Linked DNA regions of Homo sapiens: regions 1, 2 and 3 are each linked to region 4. The links are contacts of gene promoters, found by promoter capture Hi-C in human tissues and cell types (Jung and others, 2019). All regions are on one chromosome and are shown on one strand. Each heading gives the region's core, a stretch centred on a gene start or on the middle of the fragment in contact. The rest is flanking DNA. Distances are from core to core; before and after follow the strand shown. Region 1 holds the start of ENPP6 (ectonucleotide pyrophosphatase/phosphodiesterase 6). Region 2 overlaps LINC02436 (long intergenic non-protein coding RNA 2436). Region 3 has its middle 6.2 kb from the start of LINC01093. Region 4 holds the start of CASP3 (caspase 3).

The links. The method cuts DNA at HindIII sites, captures the fragments that hold promoters and counts their contacts. A contact is called where the count stands out against the background at its distance.
Region 1: a fragment that was not itself captured here is called in contact with the fragment with the promoter of CASP3 in region 4 in 2 of the 25 tissues and cell types used here (dorsolateral prefrontal cortex and spleen).
Region 2: a fragment that was not itself captured here is called in contact with the fragment with the promoter of CASP3 in region 4 in 1 of the 25 tissues and cell types used here (lymphoblastoid cells).
Region 3: a contact is called between a fragment that was not itself captured here and the fragment with the promoter of CASP3 in region 4, in 2 of the 25 tissues and cell types used here (liver and lymphoblastoid cells).

The regions. Positions count from the first base shown.
Region 1 is chr4:184,213,892-184,219,581 of GRCh38, reverse strand. ENPP6 (ectonucleotide pyrophosphatase/phosphodiesterase 6) reads left to right here and starts at 1,709. Exons shown (of 8, transcript NM_153343.4): 1 at 1,709-2,003. The coding sequence starts at 1,763. The HindIII fragment of the contact is 5,376 bases long and covers 1-5,153 here.
Region 2 is chr4:185,101,779-185,107,592 of GRCh38, reverse strand. LINC02436 (long intergenic non-protein coding RNA 2436) reads right to left here. Exons shown (of 6, transcript NR_174108.1): 6 at 345-686. Among named protein-coding and RNA genes, the nearest start is that of SLC25A4, 39 kb to the left of the region's middle. The HindIII fragment of the contact is 6,305 bases long and covers 60-5,814 here.
Region 3 is chr4:184,902,603-184,908,712 of GRCh38, reverse strand. No RefSeq gene overlaps it. Among named protein-coding and RNA genes, the nearest start is that of LINC01093, 6.2 kb to the right of the region's middle. The HindIII fragment of the contact is 5,170 bases long and covers 172-5,341 here.
Region 4 is chr4:184,646,516-184,652,619 of GRCh38, reverse strand. CASP3 (caspase 3) reads left to right here and starts at 3,173. Exons shown (of 8, transcript NM_004346.4): 1 at 3,173-3,225; 2 at 3,989-4,155. PRIMPOL (primase and DNA directed polymerase) reads right to left here and starts at 2,882. Exons shown (of 14, transcript NM_152683.4): 1 at 2,712-2,882; 2 at 520-597. RefSeq lists silencers at 2,866-3,445, 3,456-3,665. The HindIII fragment of the contact is 11,001 bases long and covers 1-6,104 here.

The sequences.
Region 1 (5,690 bases), core at 1,216-3,715, 430 kb after region 4:
AAAGAATAACATTGTTTTCAAAGTAACAACCTTTTAGGATAAACTCCCCTTTTCCTTATTTTTTAATAAGAAAAAAATTTAAATTTAATTATAAAAAGCATTACCTCTTATTGGAAAAAAGAATTCTGATCCTTGGCCAAGTCCCCTGAGAGGGGAGTGGTAATTTGGCCAATGTGTTTCTCTTTTGCAGCATAATTTAAAAAGTGACATGGTGATCCTGTGTTTGGGCTTGACTCAAATACAACAGAAAAAGAGAAGGAGAAAAGACACAAGCAGAGGGCAGAGGTGGAAGAGGGATTTTGGGGTTGACTGAGAGTGGCTGGTGTGGCTGGTGTCTATCTTCCTTCCCTGGAAAGTTTGCCCAGAGCCTGCAAGTTTCCTCAGGAGACAAGCAATGTTATAATGCGAATAACATCTAACATTTGTTCAACACTTGCTATGGACCATGCATGTTTTATGTCTTTTTTTTTTTGAGGCAGGGCCTCACTCTGTTGCCCAGCCTGGAGTGCAGTGATACAATCACAGCTTACTGCAGATATGACCACCTGTGCTCACACAATCCTCCCACCTCAGCCTCCTGTGTAGCTGGGACCAGGCACGTGCCGCCAGGCCCAGCTAATTTTTTAATTTTTTATAGAGATGGGGTCTTGCTGTGTTGCCCAGGCTGGTCTCAAGCTCCTGGCCTCAAGCAATCCTTCCACCTTGGCCTCCCAAAGTGGGCCACTGCACTCAGCCATGTTTTATAAGCCTTCACATGAATTGTGTTGTTTAATTTTATGTAGCATGACGGAGCCACTCTAGGGAACCCCTGGACTCTGGGTACTTTGTGCTAACTCTGTCTGCTCCCCAGCTCACATCTGCCTCCCTGTCACTAACCTCCTCCTATTTTCCACTCCGCCTAGTCTTCTCGGTCCCAAAGCCTGCATGGTAATTTCTAGCTCTGCTTTTCCATCTCAAGCTCTCAATCTCCAGCTCTCTATTTCATTTCCATCCTCCTGGGGCAATGCTGCTTCAGACCATTCTGCCAGTAATGATTTCCCATTGTCCAACTCTGGAAGCTTCTCATTGGCTCTAGGGCTCTTCTACGAACCACCTCCTCCTATGGGCACCAGCAGCTAAATCACATTTGAAAAATAAAATAATAACAAATAATAACACTGCATATAAAAACATAAGTGGCCAAGACATAGACAAATAACTTTTTTAAGTGCTGTGTCTACAGAGACACAGCTGGGAAGTTTACAAATGGGCCCACCGAAACGTATTGTTTCCTGTTTATGCACTGAGTCCAGAGGTTTGCGTTACTAAATTCTAAGTGAAAAAGAGTTTAAATGAGGCCATGATGTGGGATAACAGCAAATTAAAATCTTGCCCTTTTCCTTGGTTCCTCCCTTTGGTTAGCTCAACTGCAAAGTTAGTGTTGACTTTGTCATCTTCTAAAATTCCACCTCTGTGGGTGCTTGTATTTCTGGAACGTTCACCAAAAATAATAAGTTTGAACTCTCTCCCCTGGTGTTAATTCTGGGTTGTTTGGAACCCAGTTTATCTGAAGGAGTCGGTCTCTGGACTTTCTAGTAAAGGGTGAGCATAGATGTGTGGAAAAGGGGGTGCTGTTCCTTTAAATTCTGCAAGTGAACTTGACTCAGGAAGGCCAGCGGCTCAAGGTCCAGCCCCTGGAAGAGAGAATAGCTACAGATTCTCCATCCTCAGTCTTTGCAAGGCGACAGCTGTGCCAGCCGGGCTCTGGCAGGCTCCTGGCAGCATGGCAGTGAAGCTTGGGACCCTCCTGCTGGCCCTTGCCCTGGGCCTGGCCCAGCCAGCCTCTGCCCGCCGGAAGCTGCTGGTGTTTCTGCTGGATGGTTTTCGCTCAGACTACATCAGTGATGAGGCGCTGGAGTCATTGCCTGGTTTCAAAGAGATTGTGAGCAGGGGAGTAAAAGTGGATTACTTGACTCCAGACTTCCCTAGTCTCTCGTATCCCAATTATTATACCCTAATGACTGGTGAGTACCATGTCCTCTTCTGGGCAGGGAGGGGAGGGCTGGCATCCAGCAGGGAACAGTGAGCTCCTGGCATTGGAGTCTTATTTAAATGCTCTGGATTCTCTAGTCCTTTGGGACATCAAAGGTAGATAAAAAAAATCTGTGTTCTTGGCTGAGAAGACTTTTGTTTTCGTGGCGGTATTGTTTCCCAAAAGTTATCCCAAGGACCTGTTTTGGATTCTCAGTGCGGAGGACAGAGAACTATAGCAGTACATGATATTTGACGATATTAAAAGTGGTCGTTTATTTTAGAAAGAGAAATTCTAATGAGGCTCATATTTTCTAAGTTCAAGTCTGCAAAAGCAACAGGTGTCCGTGCATGTGTCCCAAACTCCTTCTGTCCCTTTTCTCTGTGGTCATGTCATCCTGGCACCCTGTGGGCTTGTTTCTCAGTGTGTTGGACTGTGAAAGTACCTGTGGGGTCCTCAGAGGGGAGTGGTGCTCCCGGATTACTTGGGGAAGGGGGGATGTTTAGGTCATATCCTTCCCTGTGACTTAGCAATGCCACCTTCCCCTTCTTTTGCCTTTTTGGCCAGGTAAAATGATACGGAGAAGAAAAAGCTTGTGTCGTTCAGGTTCCCCATTTGTGATTTGCAGCATCTACAAAAGACCAACCAGCAAAAACTCCACAAAACAAACAAAAACCTCGGCTAACCCAGACTGCCTGGGCTTGGGATAGCTGATTTTCCTAAGGACGGCCTTCATCTGAAATTGCCAGGACTCCAAACGCGACTGCATGAACCTGAGCCTCTATCCGTGCGATAATAGAATGTGCAGCCCTCTCTCTGCTCACAGAGTTGGATTCCCAGTTTCTGGTTTGTTTTTCAGCTATAACCTTTGTAAAGGCAGCGAGAGGCTCTCAGAAAGAATTTAGCAAACTATCCAGGGAGGCTGCTAAGAATGCACTGTTATTGCTGGTTATGCGGGACTCAGCTATGCACTCTGAGCACAGAGAGAGCTCTGCTAATTATGTTAACAGAAAGAAAATGAGATCTCTGATATCTCATGGACCTCCACAGAACACTAAAGCCAAAAGAGTCTAAAACAGACATTTATATCTCTGACTTTGTGCATAGATACTATATACACATGTACGGAAAAATGCCATAAACTGATGCCCCAAACTGAAGGGGAGAGATACTTCGGAGAAATAAAAATGAGGGCATGAGAGAGAGAAAAAAATCAGACTGCACACAAGCAAGGAAGTTATGTATTTGTTTTTTATTTCCCCCAGCAGACAAAAAAACAGTCTCTAAGATAAACAGAATTAACAAAATTCTCTGGCCCTCCCCTGGCATGTGTCTCCCCTTGCAGGGAAGCAGTTTGCAGGCTGCCGGCTCTCACATAGACGTGATTGTGTGGACAGCCGACTCCAGCTCTGTGCAGCGGCTTCACACACACAGCCCACCCCCACTCCAGCTGTCTTTCAGAGCCTTGCCAGGGGACCCAATTCATAAACTGCCACGCCACGTGCAGCTTCTGCAATCTTAGTGGAAAATGAACAAAATCCATCTTAGAAAGGACTCAAGTAAGTAAAAGGACCATTACAGACTCCACAGAGACACTAAGCCAATGACATGGCCTTTTGTTTGTCAGATCCACACTCCTGATATTGGCACAAGGAATAATTTGCACACAGCCTCCGTCATGCTGAGACACACCTTCTTTTCCGGCTGTGGGTGTTTTCCCTTGTGCTGTCCTGAGAGAAGGGCCCCTTCCTTTATGGGCAGCACAGGTCCCGTGAGTGTCTGACAAAGATCTCACCCTTGCTTTCAAACTGAGGCTGGCCCGAGGAAGCCACAGGTCTCCATATGTGTTAAGTCTCTGTATTTTCAGATGGCCAAATGTATTCACTGATGTGGAAGTCTGCTTGGTCTATATGTTTCATAGAAGCTACCCTGCACAAGGGAGGGATCTAGCAAGGCTCATGTTTCTGTACAAATGTCCTTGGGTATGATTTGTCTTGTACCTACTGGGCAGACTTGCAGACTTGAAGCAGAATTCGCAGGCTGGGAAATGCCAGGCCATGAACCTGGTATCACCTCCACTGTCTTGGAACTGACTCAGAGTTAAATTTAGACTATTTTCCCCAATACCCATACTTATTTTTCCACCTGATGCTGAAAACCTCCTCTTTTACTCATATAAAGAAGGATATAGCCATTGGGAATTGTAGCTAAACATATGGTTTGAGCATTTGAGCATTTTATGAACCAACAAAATTGCTATGCTAGATCTTTTTGGAAGCAAAAGATATGCTGTTTTAGGGTTCCTCAGCATTCACAAGAGAGGCTAAGCTCTCACTTCATTACCCGAATTATTGCTCAGAATACAGAAAGCCCTTGGTGTTCTTCCCTTTGCATAACGAGGAGTGATGAGTTGTTGGAAAGAATGCTGGCCCTTGAGCTGGGAGAACTTGCTTGGAGACTTCAGGCAAAATAAAATGAGATGAACTGCCGGGGCTGCATCAGGCCGGGATTTCAGGTGCTGCTGGATGCAGACATAGAACTAGGCAATGCATGGGGAATTTTATTTTATTTTATTTCACTTTAAATTCTGGGACACATGTGCAGAACGTGCAGTTTTGTTACAGAGGCATACATGTGCCATGGTGGTTTGCTGCACCTGTCAACTCGTCATCTAGATTTTAAGCCCTGCATGCGTTAGGTATTTGTCCTAATGCTCTCCCTCCCTGTGCCCCCGATCCTCCAACAGGGCCCAGTGTGTGATGTCCCCCTCCCTGTGTCCATGTGTTCTCATTGTTCAACTCCCACTTATGAGTGAGAACATGTGGTGTTTGATTTTCTGTCCCTGTGTTAGTTTGCTGAAAATGATGGCTTCTAGCTTCATCCATGTCTCTGCAAAGGACATGAACACATTCTTTTTTATGGCTGCATAGTATTCCATGGTGTATATGTGCCACATTTTCTTTATCCAGTCTATCATTGATGGGCATTTGGGTTGGTTCAAAGTCTTTGCTATTTGCACAGGTAATTTTAAAGTTAGGGCTGGACCCTCCTAGGAGGCCTTCGTGTAGAAAGTATGCAAATAGCGGAAACTCCCTTGAGACAGAGAATTTCACAGTGGATGGGGATGGGGAATCAACAGGCCTATTTGTGAGCAACCTTGAAACCATCTAGCCCAGTTGCTGCCATGAAGCCACCATGGCTGATTATTTATTTGCCTCAAAACATGTTTATATCAGGACAAAAGCAACCAAAATGCCAATCATGATCATGAAGATGAATCAAACAATTGAATGCCAGGAACATTGAATCTTTTTTCTTTTTTTTTTTATTATTATACTTTAAGTTTTAGGGTACATGTGCACATTGTGCAGGTTAGTTACATATGTATACATGTGCCATGCTGGTGCGCTGCACCCACTAACTCGTCATCTAGCATTAGGTATATCTCCCAATGCTATCCCTCCCGCCTCCCCCCACCCCACAACAGTCCCCAGAGTGTGATGTTCCCCTTCCTGTGTCCATGTGTTCTCATTGTTCAATTCCCACCTATGAGTGAGAATATGCGGTGTTTGGTTTTTTGTTCTTGCGATAGTTTACTGAGAATGATGATTTCCAATTTCATCCATGTCCCTACAAAGGACATGAACTCATCATTTTTTATGGCTGCATAGTATTCCAT
Region 2 (5,814 bases), core at 1,963-4,462, 450 kb before region 4:
TCTCCTGCCTCAGCCTCCTGAGTAGCTGGGATTACAGGCACCTGCCACCATGCCCAGCTAAATTTTGTATCTTTAGTAGAGACAGGGTTTCACCATGTTGGTCAGGCAGGTCTTGAACTCCTGACCTCAGGTGATCCACCCACCTCGTCCTCCCAAAGTGCTGGGATTACAGACGTGAGCCACCGCGCCCAGCCCAGAGTGACTCTTTTCATTGACACTAGATGAGAAGCCCAAAGACAGAAAAGAAACTTGCCAAAGGATAAAGATTGACTAATGGTAAAATTGAGCCCAACTCATATATAAATAAGTAATAAAAGTAAATTTTAGTCCTTTTACACATTATAGCACTTTTCAGCCTTTTATTTTCTACTAGTATTAGCTGTTTAAAAATAATTTTGTTCTCTAATATTTCATTTTGTATTTGAAGCACAACTAATCTGCCTAGAGAACAACAATTCTGTTAAAGATTGTCCTTTTTCAATTTGTTTATAAAATGCATTCCATTGGTGTTCAGATTTGACATTCTGGGCATGGGGCATCCTGTTGGCATTAAGAATAAAAGGCTTCCTCAGGTTTGTGGGAGAATTTGATTCCTGAGCCACTCAGATCTCACAGGGCTGGAGTCACCAGCAAAATGTCACAGAGATATTTTAGTTCAGCTGCTTACAATTACACATTTTCTCCTCCTGAAAGAGAAAGATCCCATAAGTGACAGTTTGTCAAATAGCTACCAAAGAAGACCCTCTTGTTTTCAGGGCCCAAACTAATTAGTTAGCTCAACAAACATGGATTACGAGTCCACCACTGGCCCTGTTGTCAGTTAGAGACAAATTTAAGACACTTATTTCTTGAGTTGGTGAAAAAGAAAATGAGATAATCAGTGCCATTGAGAGCTAAGGGTCATAGCAGTTATGGAATAAAACCCCTTCATTTTATTGCATATGAGAAACCGAAGTCCAGAGAGGGACCCAGGGGCAAATGGCTAGTCAGTTATGCGCTAGACCTTGAGATTCCTGCTTCTGACTCCCAGGCCAGGGCTCCAGGCAGTGCCCTAAGTGGTCAAGTAGGACATGACAGCCCCCTCATTGTATGCAGGCTCAGTGTGAAAAGAGAGACAAAAACTCACTCAGCTGCTTTTCTTAGAATTTTATTCTTCTTTTCTAATTTACGTGTCAGGGTGATTTTCAGTCTTGTCTTAGTATCTGTACTGGTTTTGAATCATGAGGAGAAAACTCTGGAGATTTCCAGCCCGCAGTGATTTAGGCTAGCTTGACAGGATAGTCCAACATGGATGGATTATCTTTCTTTCTTCCAATAGATAGAACGAGGAAAGGAAATTGCAAGCCTCAACTGAGACTAGGCCCCGTGATATATAGTGTATTTACCTTGGTTTATGTGAAATAATGGCTAAAACCTGCTTGGGGAGGATCTTTTGCTTGATGTTTTCGGTTTTGTTTATGACTGGAAGATAGGAATCCTTTCCTATCTAAATGTGAGGTTGCAGCACATTTTGGCAATTTTTCTAACATAAACACATTTTGTATGTTAAGATTTGAAGGAGAATAGACTCCCAAATGTTTTATTGTGCATTGCCCATAGAGTACTCTAAAATGCAGTGAAAATAATTTTAGAAATTTTGATTAAATGATAGATTGCTTCACATTTTATATTACTGTATGACTTTATAAGCTTATGTTACTGATATGAAACTTAGTGAATATATGTACAAATAAATAATTGCAATTCTTTGAAATGTAGGCAAAAATTATCACATCATTACGACACTTTGTTCTGTAGGGTTGCAAGAAAAGAAATAATATCCTTTGGACAAAAAAGTACCCCAAGCCAGGTGTGGTGGGGTGTGCCTGTAGTCCAAGCTACTCGGGAGGCTGAGACGGGAAGATCACTTGAAGTCAGGTGTTCAAAGCTGCAGTGAGCCACGATCACACCACTGGACTCCAGCCTGGGTAACAGAGTGAGACCTCATCTCAAAAACAAACAAAAAGTATCTCAATTTATAAAAGCATCTCAATTTGTTGCAGAATATCCACACAAATGAGGAGTATGTTTAAATTTATGTAAATTAGTTTAAGGGAATGCACATTGTAACATTTGTTAAATACTGTCCTGTAACTATTGCTGTTGATTGGATACTCAGCAAAGTGACACTGTTAGACAGGACTAGTGCTTTCCACAGTCCCTCAACAGGTGCTGTAGTTTCAAAATTACCCAAACGTTCTTCTCCATTGGGCAGAAATTATTTTCTGTGTATAACTTTTGGTAACGTAGATGGTCAGAGGTTCCATGTTTCTCAGTGTGGTGGTCACCAGGTGGATTTCATACTACAGCAGGTCCCTGTTTTCTCAACTGCTCTCTTTCCAGAGCTAAAAGCTGACGTGAATCTTGCTCACAACATGTAGAGTGGAAACCCGCTCAAGCACATTCAGTAAAAAGTCAACCAGCCAAGTGAAAGTGGATGAGCAAGAGGGCAGAGGTGAATGACTGAGGGTCTACTAAGAAGTGTTCCCCAGAGACAAATTAACTATCAAGTATTTCTGATGGACTCCCCCAAAGGAGTAAGGAAACTTTGCCAGTATTTACTTTCAATCTGTCAATTTTAGACTATAAGTTATTTCAACATAATTTACTTTGGCAGTTATATCATGTGTGTTTACTTATGTGCCAGAGTTCTGCAGGCAAAAGAATGGCCCAATTCAAGTGACAGCTTTTTAGCTTTAAGATGTTTTCAACAAAATGCTAATACTTTTACCTCTCAGAATAAATAACTCAGTTCCCTCCTTTTGAGGAGACTCAGAATTAGAAAACATTCTGGCTAAATAAAATTGGATCTAGGTCAGCTCTTTCATTTGACAGAGGAGGAAACTGAGGCACAGAGAGGCGAAGTGACTTTTTCCTAAATCTCATGGTTAATTATTGGCAGAACCTGGACCAGAACTCAAGTTTCTTGATTCTCAGTTCATTGCTCTTCTCCACTTAAAATCTGTTTTCCTCAAACATGGCTTTTTACTTCATCATATAAACATTTTCTCAGTTCTACATCTCAGCTCACCCTCACGGGTCCATCCTTTTCTGGTTCCTTTCTACATGCCACCTTTCTGGCAAGCTCTTTCTGGAGTGCAGTGGCATGATCTCAGCTCGCTGAGACCTCTGTCTCGTGGGTTCAAATGATTCTCCTGCCTCAGCCTCCCTAGTAGCTGATATTACAAGTGTGCGCAACCACACCTGGCTAATTTTTGTATTTTTAGTAGAGACGGGGTTTCGACCATGTTGGCCAGGCTGGTCTCGAATTCCTGACCTCAAGTGATCCACCCACCTCTGCCTCCCAAAGTGCTGGGATTACAGGCGTGAACCACCACACCAGCCCCTAGCAAGCTCTTTCTGAAGAGCAGGCTGCTCCTCCCACTCTCTCACTGCCGCTCAGTCCAGTGGCTTGGCTTCTTTGCCCTTGAACTTGCTCTCTCCAAGGTGTCCAGTGACAATGTCCACCCTCCAGTCCTTAGTTTATTTGACTTCTCTGCAACATTAAACTCTACTGTCCACTCACTCCTTCCTAAAACCACGCATTTTTTTCTTCTTGGCTTCTATGATACAATCTCCTGGTTTTCTTCTCTCTCTGGCTTCTCCTTCACGGATTCCTTGATGGGGTCTAGTTTCTCACATCTTAAATGCTTGTATGGCCCAGTTACTCTTCTCATGTATATGTTCTTAGACGTGCTGTCGGGCACATCATGGCTCCAACATCACCTCTGTGAGGATGACTCTCATGCCCACATATCTGGCTCAGACCTCCCTCTATCTCTCCCCGCCCCCACCTTTTTTTTTTTTTTTTTTTTTGAGACAGGGTCTCACTGTTACCCAGGCTACAGTGCAGTGGCACAATCAATCACACAACTCACTGCAGTCTCAAACTCCTGCGATCACGCAATCCTCCCACCTCAGCCTCCCAAGTAGCTGGAACTACAGGTGCACACACCATGCCTGGCTAATTTTTTATGTTTTTGTTTTTTGTAGAGTTGAGATCTCCCTATGTTTCCCAGGCTGGTCTCCAACTCCTGGCCTCCAGCAATTCTCCCACCTGGGCCTCCCAAAGCACTAGGTTTACAGATGTGAGCCACCATGCCCAGCCTCAGACATTTCTTTTGAGTTTCAGCCACATATATCTACTATAAACTTCATCTCAAATTCACCACATTCAAAACCTGTGCCACTTCCTCTACCTTCTGTATCTTAGTGTCTGTACAAATCAGAAAACAAAGTAACCTAGACTCCCATTCTCCCTCAACTCACACTTAACAAGCCACCAAGTAGTACAGAATCTATTGCTTTATCATCTCTCCTGTCTTCTCCCTCGTCTCTACCTTGAGCAGACACTGTTTTGTCTTGCCTGGACTACAGCAGTAGCTTCTTAGCTGCCCTTTCTGCCTCCAGTCTGCCCACCCCTACATATTGCTGGACCCTCAAATACTGCTGGATGTATGACCCTTCTATTTATTTATTTTTTTGAGACAAAGTCTCACTCTGTCACCCAGGCTGGAGTGCAGTGGCGTGATCTTGGCTCACTGCATCCTCCATCTCCTGGCTTCAAGCGATTCTCCTGCCTCAGCCTCCCAAGTAGCTGGGATTACAGGTGTGCACCACCAGGTCCAGCTAATTATTTTTGTTTTTTTTTTTTTGAGACAGAGTCTCGCTCTGTTGCCCAGGCTGGATATTTTTGTATTTTTAGTAGAGACGGGTTTCACCATGTTGGCCAGGCTGGTCTTGAACTCCTGACCTCAGGTGATCCACCTGCCTCGGCCTCCCAAAGTGCTGGGATTACAGGCATGAGCCACAGTGCCCAGCCTGTATGACCCTTCGAAACTGCAAATATGATTAGAACCCTTTGGCATGCATGCCAGGTCTTGCATTCTCTGGGTATGGCCTTCCTCTCCAGCCTCGTCTCCCTTCACCCCCGCACATCCACCTTCCATCTCAGCCTCTCCAAACCACATACAAGCTCTAAGATGCACTGTGCTGTTTCTTGCCTCCAGTTCCCTTCATGTGCTGTTCTTGAAATGCTCCTCCCTTTTTTCTCATTCACTCACACTCATCCTTTAAGTTCAGTCTAAGTGTCGCCTCCTCAGAGAGCCTTCTTGCATTCTTCCATCTGACCTAGATGCCTCCTCTCCTCCCTGACTCTCTCACAGCACCCACTCCATACCCTATTATAATTGTTTCTAAACTGTAAACTCTCAAAGACCGAGTGTATTTTCAGCCTGGTGTATTAATATCGCATTTACAGATTTTACTTGAGTTTTTCCAGTAATGTAGCATATGCATTACAGCACAAGGTGATTATGTGCCCCCAACTTTCTCTGCTTTCCGGAGCTCCCAGGTGAGGGGTCTGGAGGCATGCGCAAGACCATCTACTGCTCAGAGCCGGGAGTTGCAGGTGCCACCTCCTTCCCCTAACCATGCCCCCTGACCTCTCCCTACTCTTGCGAGTGAGCCTCATGGCCAGGCTGCTGCGGAGCCAGGAAATGGGATGTCTGGATGCCCTGCTGCTGGACTGCCACAGCTTCCCAGGCCATCTTCTTGGCCCCTCCCTACCCCCACCCCAATAAGACTGGGTGAGAGGGGAGGTGTTGATGCTCGTTCTGCTGACTGGCCCCTTTGTGGGGAGATGGCTGGCCCCAAGACAAGAGATGGTGGTTCTCTAAGCATAGAAGGTGGGAAACTCAGCATCTTTTCTTTTCTCAGTCAATTCCAGAAGTAACGGTAATAGCCAAATTCTTCTTGTGGGCCAAGAGCAATTTT
Region 3 (6,110 bases), core at 1,507-4,006, 260 kb before region 4:
AATGACACGGTCTCAGCACACTGCAACCTCTGCCTCCTAGGTTCAAGCGTTTCTCCTGCCTCAGCCCCCTGAGTAGCTGGGATTACAGGCACACGCCACCACACCCGGCTAATTTTTGTATTTTTAGTAGAGATGGGGTTTCACCATGTTGGCCAGGCTGGTCTCAACCTCCTAACTTCAGGTGATCCACCCATCTCGGCTTCCCAAAGTGCTGGGATTACAGGCATGAGCCACTGCGCCCGGCCTTCCACATCAATTTTTATTGTGTGTTCAGATGAACACATATGTCATTGTGTGTTTGGATGAACTGTTGTGGAGTAAGGCCAGGCAGGACTCTATTCTTACCCCAGTGCCCTTATTACAGCAATACATCTTTTTCTAGAGGTACCACAACAGGCCAAGGGCTCAGGCTAACATGCTGGCTAGATGGCCTTCTTAGAAAAGGGCATCCCTTGACACTGCCAGTTGTTTGTTTTCTGGGACTCCTATTTCATTTAGGGATAATACCCAGAACATTGGTTGGACCACTCTATCACCTTTAAGAGACAGGAAGGGATAAGGATCCTAGTTGGTGTGGTTGAAGACATAGTCAAATTAAACAGTTCTCTTGGAGAGGTGGATCTCCAAGACTTCAGAGGACATAATGTCCTCTGAAGGTGTGAGGTAGTCTGGGCTCTCTTGAAAAGCACAGGGATGACAAGTACTTTTAGGGTGGGGCAGGAAGTGTGGGTTTACCATCCCTGTACACTCTGCCCATTGGTCTGTCTTCTGGGGTATCACTTAGTTTGGGAGGTAGAAATTAGCCTCTTCAACCTGAGCACTGCTAAAATTCTATGGGCTAATGTAAAAAGTTGGATCACACAGCACAGACAGAAATTGTGTTTCCACAGGAAAGATTAGGAACGTTTCACAGAGGACTGCTGGTTGCCTTAGTAACACGACAGCCCTCTAGGACAGAGCTCCAAATAGACAGGAAGTGAGGACACCAGGGCCAATGTCGGCAGAACAGGCATTCTTACCTAAAACACAAGAGTCCCGAGGCCGTGTTCGGGAAGTCTGTGCAACCCTTAGCATGAGAACAAATCACAGATCTGGTGTGATTTGCTTGAGTGAAAGAACACGCAGTCCATGTTTCCCATTACCCAGCTCCATTTGGATAAATCCAGAAGAAAACACACAGAATCACATCCTTCTTGTCCAGTTAACTTGCTGCCTCCCTGAAGAGTATGATTTACATAATCATGAGAGATGCTGTTTTTAACAAACACACCAGAACTTACCTATCCACAAGATGGCCACCTTTCACAGACATGGGCTGGGGTAGGGTGAAGGCACAGTTATTGCTGAAGATATAAATGTTGCTTTAAGGTAGTACTTTGGAAAATCTAGTATTTGATCACTAGACATACAAGACAATCTGATTAGTTTCTGAAATCACCCTTCAAGTTTGTTTGTTTTTAACTAAAAATTGAGCCCTAGATTGATGCACCTCTCCCTAGTGCCCAGCACATACTGGTATTCCACTAAGTGATTCATGAATGTCCAGAGATCCATCTCCCTCCATCACTCGAGTTCCCCCAAGTCAGCTCTACCTTCAAAGGTGAAGACTTACCATCAGCAGCAAGTCCAAAGGATATTCGGCAGAGTCTAGTTGGCTTTCCAAAAAGGCATCCCAACAGGGCCACTTCAAGGGGACAATATTCACTAAATGTTATGGTTTTAAATTACAGCCACAAATTCATTAATGCTTTCTTCATGAGAGGTGGGGCTTACGTTCCCTCCCTTTGAAAATGGGCAGGCATGTGTATCTTTGACTAATAGAGTGAAAATGATGTCATGTGACTGCCGAGGCTAGATCATGAAAAATCAAGCTATTTCTGCCTTGTTCACTCGAATCCTCATTTTTGGAGCCATGAGCTGCCAAGTAAGAAGTATGAGTACCCTAATTGCACTATGCTGTGTGGAAGCTCAGTATTATGTGGAAAGGTCAGTTGTGGGTTTATGATCAACAGTCCAAGCTGGGCCAGGCTTTGAGGCATGCTAACACAGGCATGAGACATATGAGTAAAGACACTTTCAGGTGGTTCCAGTACCAGCTGTTCCAGTTCCAGTTGCTTCTAGCTATTTGAGTTTCCCTAGCTGGGATTCAGGTCACTGTGGAAAAGAGATAAGGAATCCTCACTGTTTCTGGCCTAAATTTCTGATTTAAAGCATTGGTGAGCATAACAAAATAGTTGCTGTTCTATGGCAATTTTAGGGTACTTTGATATAAAACAATACGTAACTGGACCACTTGGTTTGACAAAACTGGATATCTAGTAAAAGTAAGTTATGTTATTTTAAAGACATATGATACCTATCTGCCAGAAACCGTGCTGAACATGGATTGTCGAAAATGGTGAATTCATTTTACCAAGATTCAACCAAATGGTGAACCCACATTTTAGATGCTGTGGCCTTGGTGCCTTCTTTTAGGGCTGCCACTGGCGAGAGGTTTGGTGTTTTTGGGCCATCGTTCCCTTCTCTACAACATGAGAAGCTGTGCTACGTAGCCTCTAAGGAGGTCATGATTCTAAGCTTTCAAGCAGGAACTGGGTGCAAAAAGTATTATTCCCACACCAACGTTCGTCGCAGCATTATTCACAATAGCCAAAAGGGAAGCAACACAAGTGTCCATCCACAGATGAATAGATAAGCAAAATGTGGTCTACTCATGCAATGGAACATTGTTCAGCCTTAAAAAGCAATGAAGTACAAGTACCTGCTCCAACTTGGATGAACCTTGAAAACATTATCCTAAATTAAAGAAGCCAGATGCAAAAAGACAAATATTTTATGTTTCCACTCATATGATGCACCTAGAATAGGTAAATTCACAGAGATAGAAATGGTTACCAGTGGCTAGGGCAAAGTGGACACTGGGAGTTGTTTAATGGGTACAGAGTTTCTGTTTGAGATGATGCAAAAGTTCTGGAGATGGATGGTGATGCTGGTGCAACGTTGTGAATGGACATAACACCACTGAAATGTACACTTGAAATGGGTTAAAATGGTAAATTTTTAAAATTTATATTTTTGGTACAGTAAAAATATTTTACAGTCTTCTTCCAGTAGGCTTTAACTCTGGAGTCTGTGCCTCATATCGCCATGTGGAATAAGGATGAGGATGGGTGCCCTCGCCCACCTTCATGCAATCACCCAGGCATCTGGAAATGTCTCTCAACCTTCTCAGTGGCCCCAGGACACAACCCAGATTACTCATCTCATCAGTAGGGATTTCTGGATACACTCAAAGGATAGCTGTAAAAAGCTTCCATGAATATGTGGTACAACACCATGGCTTTGCATATGAGGAAAGAGGGAATATAACTCAAAGAACCATCTTCCATGGAGAGAAAAGCAATCCAGCTAGATTTAAAGCTTAACTTAAACCAAGTCTGGCATTTTCTCTTCTAGGATAGTGGTCCACTTTTCTCTAGAAATCTCATTTTGAACTCAGTTGGCGTTTTTGTGTTCATCTCTGAGCCAAGGAGTTTATAGAACCCAGAATGAGGGTCTAGGTTCTATTAAACCTCTAATTTGATTCTTCTTCTCAACATATTAATCTAGACAGTCACTACCAATTCATTAGAGTCGGCATAAAAGATGAAATCTATTTGCTATTCCCATTACAATTTCATTCTTTTTTTTTTTTTTTTTTTTTGAGACGGAGTTTTGCTCTTTTTGCCCAGGCTGGAGTCAATGGCACTATCTCGGCTCATCGCAACCTCCGCCTCCCGGGTTCAAACAATTCTCCTGGCTCAGCCTCCCGAGTAGCTGTCATTACAGGCATGTGCCACCACACCTAGCTCATTTTGTATTTTTTGCAGAGATGGGGGTTTCTCCATGTTGGTCAGGCTGGTCTCGAACTCCCGACCTCAGGTGATCTGCCCACCTCGGCCTTCCAAAGAGCTGGGATTATAGGCGCGAGCCACCATACCTGGCCTACAATGTGTTTTATCGTAATATGGTGGAGGGGGCACTGAACTTGAAGCCCAATGGCCTGAATTTAAATCTAGACTCTGCCGTGACCTAGGGCAAGTCATTAAATTTTTCTGTTCTTCATCTTTAAATAAAGCAATTGGAGGAGATAAACCTTAAAATGCCTCCCAGCTTGTATGATTCCATTATTCTCTGATTATGCACTATTTTTGTTTGTGCTTTGAAAGTAAGGAAATGACCTTAATACTTGAAAGTTATCATGCATCAGTCGATTCTACTATTCTTCCATGCGTGTGTGAAATGGTGTGTGGACTGGTGTGTAGATTGTCTCACTGTAGTGACAGCTAGGTTGCATTGCCCAGTTTTTCATTTCTGAATGAAGGACTTATTCCCCCAGCTGCCAGGCATGATGCCTGCAAACAGCCCTCAAGTCTCAGTCCCCCTGAGGAGTTGCTCTGGGCTGGAGGAAGCCACTTTGCCTGAGACTTACTGCCTTCCCAGAGGCAGCTTGTACCCAAAGACATTGTATCCACATGGGAATTTAAAGATAGGGTCCCCTCATCCAAACTCAGGATAACTCTGAAAGGTTCTACAAGCTCAGAGCTTCTCATGGGGTTAGCTGAGGCCTTTGATGAGACTAAATTGCAACCCAGTTTCTCCCTCTGTCCAAATTTGCTTCTTTGCCTTCCCCCACAAGGAGTAGATCCCAAAAGCACCCCCCAGTAAAAATCTTGCAGACTAATTTCCATTCAGTCTGTTTCCCAGGTAACCTACTTGTACATCATATAACCTCCTAATGGTATTATAACATAGATGAATGTATTTGGAAGCCGGAGGAAAGTATGTTTCCATGGTCATCCAACTAGAAGATGATAAATCCAGGGTTTAAACCCATGCCCTGGCATCCCTACTCCAAACTACTATAATATTCTGCCTCCTTGACGTTTTATTCATTTCTCAGATTTTATACAAGTTTCCCAAGTGTACATTTAAAAATTGTTGCTTAAGTGTATGCATATTTTCCAAATATTATATATGTTTTCAAGCTAGTCTGCAAAGGTGAATGCAAGTATTGGGAATAGCCCCAATAAAGTGACTTTCAAAATAAGTCACCCCAAAGTTAGGAACCTAAGAAACAACCCAGCAGTCCTAAATCCAGCCACTTCCAAATTCTTTTTAAAATTTTTTTGTTTTGCCATTTTGTGTTTATAAGCTATAGCTCCTTCCAAATTCTGATGAAAATAGCGATGAAGACAAAAAGAGAATGCTGTCTGACAAGTTGCAGGTGAGAAAAACTGAGTGCAGCAAAGTCCCCAGCGGAGCCGCTGAGGGATTGTGCAGACAAGAGATGCTGTTCTTCACACTCCTGGATTGGTATCCACGGTCCTGCCTCTGCTGGGGCCGTGAGCAAGCGTGGGACGGTGAGCATTGCCAGGAGCATCTGCGGTGCTTTCTGCAACTTCTCTCCCACCTTGCCTCCTTGCGCTGAGGCTCTCTGGCACTTTCAGAGACCAGCAGCTGCTGAAATGTCCTGTTCTAAGAGGACCTGTTCACAAGTGGCTGTGTAGGCCGATGCCAGAGGTGGTGATAGTTGACAAAGTTCTAGACTCAGCCCTGCCACTACCACTCAGTGATTTTAGGGAACTGCAGGCCTTGCCATGCCTCCGTTTTCTCAACAGCCAAATGAGGATAACAATACCTGTTCTTCCTTCGTATGAAACAACTATGAAAGACAAATGTGACAATGGCAACGGCATCACTTGATGGTTACAAGTGTTGCCTATTTTCCAAAACCCATTATTACATCCTCTGGTAACAGAAGTGGAGAATTATGAATAGCGATTTATTCATTGTAAGTTAAAAAATGTCTCATACTCTTTTCTTTCTTCTAACAGATGATTCATACCTCACCTCTATCACTACCTATCTTCATGTTTCTCTTTCTGGTATGAGGTCTTGTGCATTAGCCTAATAGTTATCTAATTCCTGGGCCAAAGATCTAAGGTTGGAGGTCAGTGGAACAAATTCAGCTTGCCAACAAAATTGGTTTCAACTCACATGGTGTGGCTGTTATGTTTCAAAACTTGAACTAGCAGAAAACAAAAATTCAGATTTCCAGCTTCGTTCAA
Region 4 (6,104 bases), core at 1,924-4,423:
AAAGCATTTACAAAAATATTATTATATAAGTTCACTTTCTGGATGAATAACACCTTAAGAAATTAAGTATAAGTGACTGGATTTTCCTTTTTTCTCCCACTTCAGTCACTTTGCCTTTCTATGCTTGAGCAGAAGTAACTCATATTTAAATTTCCCCAAATCCTCTTTAAGGAGTAAGAAAACACACAGCGATATATTGTGCTTTTTTTTTTTCCAGTTCCTCCTTTCTATCCTCCCCACAGGATCTCCCATCCAAACAGCATAACTCTGCCAGCCCAATCACCCTTAAAACCATTTTCATCACTTTTCACAGGGATAATGATTCATAGCAACATTCAACTCACACAGGTAAACTAACGTCACGAAGTCTAAACTCCCCTCCAGAATCTGGCCCTAAATCATTTACCTATTTCATTTCTTACTCTTCCACCATCTCACCAAATGAATTGATAATGACCTCTGCTTTCTCCTGAGCCACTCCAGAAACCTCCCCCCGCACCCAGCACACATTTCTCTTACCTGGAATGCCCCACGTTGCTTTTCCCGAATTCTTCCCCTTCCAGGCCCAGATCAAGTTCTGTCACCTCTGGGATACCTCTGTAAAGAGAAATTACTGGCTTCAGCCAGAAGACACTGCCTCCAGCCTACTGTTTGGCTATAATTAAAATGTTTGGCTGGGCACGGTGGCTCACGCCTGTAATCCCAGCACTTGGGAGGCCGAGGTGGGTGGATCACCTGAAGTCAGGAGTTCGAGACCAGCCTGGCCAACATGGTGAAACCCCATCTCTACTAAAAATACAAAAATTAGCTGGGCCTAGTGGTAGGCACCTGTAATCCCAGCCACTTGGGAGGCTGAGGCAGGAGAATCATGTGAACCCGGGAGGCGGAGGTTGCAGTGAGCCGAGATTGCACCACTGCACTCCAGCCTGGGCAACAAGGGTGAAACTCCGTCTCAAAAAAAAAAGTTCACAGACTAAGTAAATTAGTATGATTTACAGGAAACCAGAAAACTGCTGCTAATGCTTGCTAATTTGGCAAGAAAGTTTAGCACAGGAAGGGGTTTGGGCATCACAATAGGATAAGGACTAGTTCAACCACACTAGTCCCCTCTTTGCAAATTACTGCTCTGCAGAGCCACTGTTAAGGTTGGGAGTGGGTCCTATTTCTCAGTTTTATTGAGGCAGAAAAAGGACTGTCAAACATTGGTGTTCACTCAATTCAGGAGGGATAAAGAAAGGCCTAAGTCTTATTTGTGGGATCTGAGTTTAACTCCTGTGACTGTCTTTTTAGCAACAGCAAACTACTTAACCCCTTTTTTTTCTTTTTTTTGAGACAGAGTCTTGCTCTGTTGCCCAGGCTAGAGTGCAGTGGCGCAATCTCAGCTCACTGCAACCTCTGCCTCCCGGGTTCAAGCGATTCTCCTGCCTCAGCCTCTCAAGTAGCTGGGATTACAGGTGCCCACCACTGCACCCGGCTAATTTTTTTTGTATTTTTAGTAAAGACAGGGTTTCACCATCTTGACCAGGCTGGTCTCGAACTCCTGACCTCGTGATCCACCTGCCTCGGCCTCCCAAAGTCCTGGGATTACAGGCATGAGCCACCGCGCCGGGACTTAACCTCTTTAAACTCGGCCTTAACCTCTTTAAACCTTATCCTCTTTAAATTGGAATTCCTATCCCGAGGGATTGTTGAAAGGCTGAAACAAACAAATGTATTATGAAAATGTAAAAGCATGCAATAAACTCAGCAAGGGGTAACCATATATAAAACTAAGTATATTTCTGTGCAGAATATAGTCCCTATAGTCGAATAGGCGCAAGTGTTAGAAACAGGCTCTGCCATGGGGTCCCTGAATCTGACTTCTGAATGTCAAGAACTTTTTGAAATCTGATGCAGAATGTCGTGCTCACATGTGTTGGTGAATTCTTCTGCGAAAATGATTCACAGTTTGCTTCAGGGTCTGAAATGAGTTCACGACCCAAAATAGGAAGGGGATCGGTAGGGCAGTGTATATAGCACACCATTGACGTAACCATTAATAACTCCATCTTAGGAGAAGACCCCATTTTTACATTTCATAAGGCATTTGCCAACAAGCATACTATACTTTAATAAACAAATAAAAAAATAGTCCGCATCCAGCCAGGTAAGGACACAAACAAGCACTCTCTTCCATTACCAGTTCTCACCACAGGACTCTGTGACTATAAAAGATGGGGCCTTCGGCAGCTCCCAACAGCCGGCTTAATTGACGCCGTCTTTGCAGAAGGACCTCTCGGCCCAAACCAGGCTTCTTTTCCTCTTCTTCACTCCCTCTGGATTGGTTCGTTAATCTCTTTGCCCCATCTCTTTTTCCTCATGATGTTAAATGCTACTTTGTTGTGGGATGCTTAACTTGTAACATTTATATGTGGATTAAGTACACTACTATGATGCGTGAGCGGCTTGAGCCTGTGTGTCAGGCTCTGACTACCCAGTGACCAGCAAGTGCTGAGAACTGCCTCCTTGGGAACTCCACGCAGCTCGTGGCTTTTGTGATCGAAAGAGCGTCCACAGCAGCCTGACATGGTGGAAAACACAGCATGCGTGGACCTGGTTATTTCTAGCCTGGCACCCTGATGACAGGAGGTTAAGGCTTTTGATTTAGGGAGAGAGACCTGAGGGTAACCCAAAGAAAGGCCTCAGGTCATCGCAGAGGAGACAGAAATTACCGGTGGGCGTCCCGGCCTGCTCCTCTTCTTCCCAGAGCTCAAACTGGGCAGCAGGCCTGGCTTTGTCTCCCTTCTAGGTACCCGTTGGGCCTGGCGCGGTTTCCAAGTCTCCCTCAATTTCCCTCCAGAATCCCGCGCTGGGAGCGGAAGCCCGCGGACTCTCAGGAAGACCTAGATTTCAAATCCGGGGCGGGGGAGCCGGGCCGAGCCTCAGGGCGGGACCAAAGCGGGAGGACTGGCGCGGGACGCGAGGGCGGGACCAGGGCGTGAGGACGCGGGGCGCGGGGGCGGGGCGCGCTGCGGTGGGCGGGCGCCTCCTGGGGCCCAGCCTGGGGCTGGGTTCTCGGGCGGGCGGGAGCTAGGGGACGGGCCGCAGCGGAGGCGGCGCGAGGGGCCGACAGGGGCGGGCGGGAGGCGGGGCTGGCGCTGGAGCACATCTCCCGGCGGCGGGCCGCGGAAGCAGTGCAGACGCGGCTCCTAGCGGATGGGTGCTATTGTGAGGCGGTTGTAGAAGGTATGAGGAGGCTGTGCGGTGACTGCCGCCCTCGCTCCGGGCCGTCAGCCCTGCCCCCGCTCCCTGCGTTCTCCCAGGCCCTGCGCCCGCCCGGGTACCTGCCCGGTCTGGAAGGCGGAGTGTTTGTTTTGCCACCTCGCCCGGGCGGGGGCGAGCAGTGAAGCCCGCGGAGCGAGAGACTTGGCCCGGAGGCGGGAGCCTGGGCCGGGGCCGGGGAAGCCAGGCAGCGGGTTAAGGCTTTTGATTTAGGGAGAGGGACCTGGGGGTAACCTAAGGAAAGGCCTCAGGTCATCGGAGGGGAGACCTGGCCCGGGGGCGGGAGGCTGGGCTGGGACCGGGGAGGCCGGGCAGCGCGAGGCCGGGCCGGGGAGGCCAGGCAGCGGGAGGCCTGGCCAGGGGAACCGAGCCCGGGGCCGGGAGGTCGGGCACGGGGCACCGAGCTCCGAGGGCGGGAGACCTGGCGGCCGGCCGAGTGCCGGAAGGCCGGGTCAGGCGGCGGAAGGCAGCGGCAAGCTGGGAAACGGACGGCGCTACCGCCGGCGGAGGAGTGGCCCCGGGAAGCGGTGCTGCGAGGGCTGGGGCGGCCGGGTGCTGACTGTGAGATACTCGCCCTGGGGGCTGATCCTTCCAATTTTGGACGAGGCTTCCGTCTCTGCTGCCTTCCATGCCTGGGGCCTGGATTATCCCGGGTTGACAATGTGGTTTAGCTCTTCCAGAGAGATAGTTGCAGGGTTTAAACTCCAATTCCTTTTCGGCCCTGCAGAGTTTCGTGAGTGCTCGCAGCTCATACCTGTGGCTGTGTATCCGTGGCCACAGCTGGTTGGCGTCGCCTTGAAATCCCAGGCCGTGAGGAGTTAGCGAGCCCTGCTCACACTCGGCGCTCTGGTTTTCGGTGGGTGTGCCCTGCACCTGCCTCTTCCCCCATTCTCAGTAAGTGGCACCCAAGCAGGAAACCGGAAAACATCGTTCGCAGCCCCCTCTCGCCCACCCACTTCTTTTCCTGCTTAGTCGCCAAGCCTTGTCGACCTTGTAAATGTCTGCCAGATCTGTCCGCGTCTCTCTATCTCTGATTTCAGCCGTCTGACCACAGCAGCCTCTTCCCTGGTCTCTCCACTTCCAGACCCGCCTGCTCCTTTGCAGTCCACTTTTTACAGCACAGGCAGAGGGATCTTTATGAAATGAAAGTCTAGAAAGCTCGTCCTTTGCCCTTAGGTTAAACCCAGCACTTAATATGGCTAACAAACCCCTGCGTGTGTTGGGTCCTGAGTGCCCCCACCCCTCCTTATCTTTAGCACCGGTTCGATTTCTGCACGGCAATGCTGACCTTCATACCTAGTGTCTGCCTGCAACACCTCTGCACTCCCTTTCTCCCGCCATCACATTTGATTAGAAGAGCTGCTACTTAAATTTCTGTTTTCATTAAACAGTTTAAGGTTAAATCTTCCTATGCTGTGTTCTTTCTGCAGCCAGCATTCCCTAAGAGAGATGTGTCATATCCTTTGCAGTTGCTTGTTTACTATCTTCCCTGCTAGATTTGCAAGCAAACTCCAGGAGGGACGGACTTGGTTTATCTTGGTATCCTTAGTGTCTTGCCCCAAATGCGGGGCCTGGCATAACACAGTGAATGCCCATCCATTGTATTTTTACTTTTATGCCCTATCTAGAAAAAGTAGACCTGGTTTAGGATTATTCAGCAAATAATAATTAGAAAAGAAATGGTAGAGGTGACATACGGAGTCACTGAAACGATGTAAACCTGCAAGATAGCTGAAAGAGGGCCAGGCAAGGTGGTTAGACCAGACTGTATCAAAATGGGCTCAGCCACTGTGAATGTGCGTGCTGTGGTTACATAATCTCTAAAAATGAAATATAAAGCTTAAATCATCTCTATCACAGCCCGATGCTTGGACTTTGGTTTTGCTTTGCCTTTTTGCAAAAGAAGGTTTTTGAAAGTGAAAATTATTTTAGTGAATGGATGAACAGTTTATTGGAGTATGGCAATAAAACCTGTTCAAAGTAAGAGACATTAGACATTGTACCTAGTTAAATCAGATTTGCTTTTGCTATCCTGAATAAAGGCCTTGCCTCTTGCCATTTGAAGAGACTGGCATCTGATATAGGCAATTATAATGCTTCTTTACTGTTTTGTTTTCAAACCTCGTTTAACACAATCTCCTACTGCTTCATCCCCCTACAAAGCAGTCTTTATTTTGATGAATGATATATTACATTGCTTCTGGTGCCTACTATTAGATCTTTAAGCTCTGCCCCAAAGATAAGAAGCACTGGTGTTTGGGCCTAAACAAAGATGGGAGAATTCTTAGATTTATATAATATTCTTTCTCTGCATGTTTTGTTCTTACCTTCACATGTTGCCTGTAGAGCTTCTTTGCATTACAATAATGAAATCAAGCTACCTGATATGTATTGGACACGGTCTGGCATCTGCCTTGTTGAGCCACTTTTGAATACCAGTGAGCATCGGTATAAGCCCTGAATAGAGATAGGGTTTGTCTCTTCCACTGCTTGATACACTCAGGGTCTAGTATAGTACTCTGCACACAGTTGGTGTTCAGTAAATTGTTATGGTGCAAATATCAAATGAATAAATGCTACTGAATCTGAGTTTTGGCAGTTTCAGTCTTCCTGACAGCAGGATTTCTTCAAGCGGTTTTAAACTTGAATCTGATTCTGCAAAGTAGTCATCCTTGGTGGGAGTGCTGAGGCTTTAAAGTCATCTGTAATTTTTATAAAAAGGCATCCGAGATCCTCCATTTTACACTTATATCATACAAATCATTTAGATCTGTGAAGGCTTTCCCATTTTCTCCTTTTGTCCTTCCAAAAACACCATCTTAGGACTTCACCTGGCACAGGGA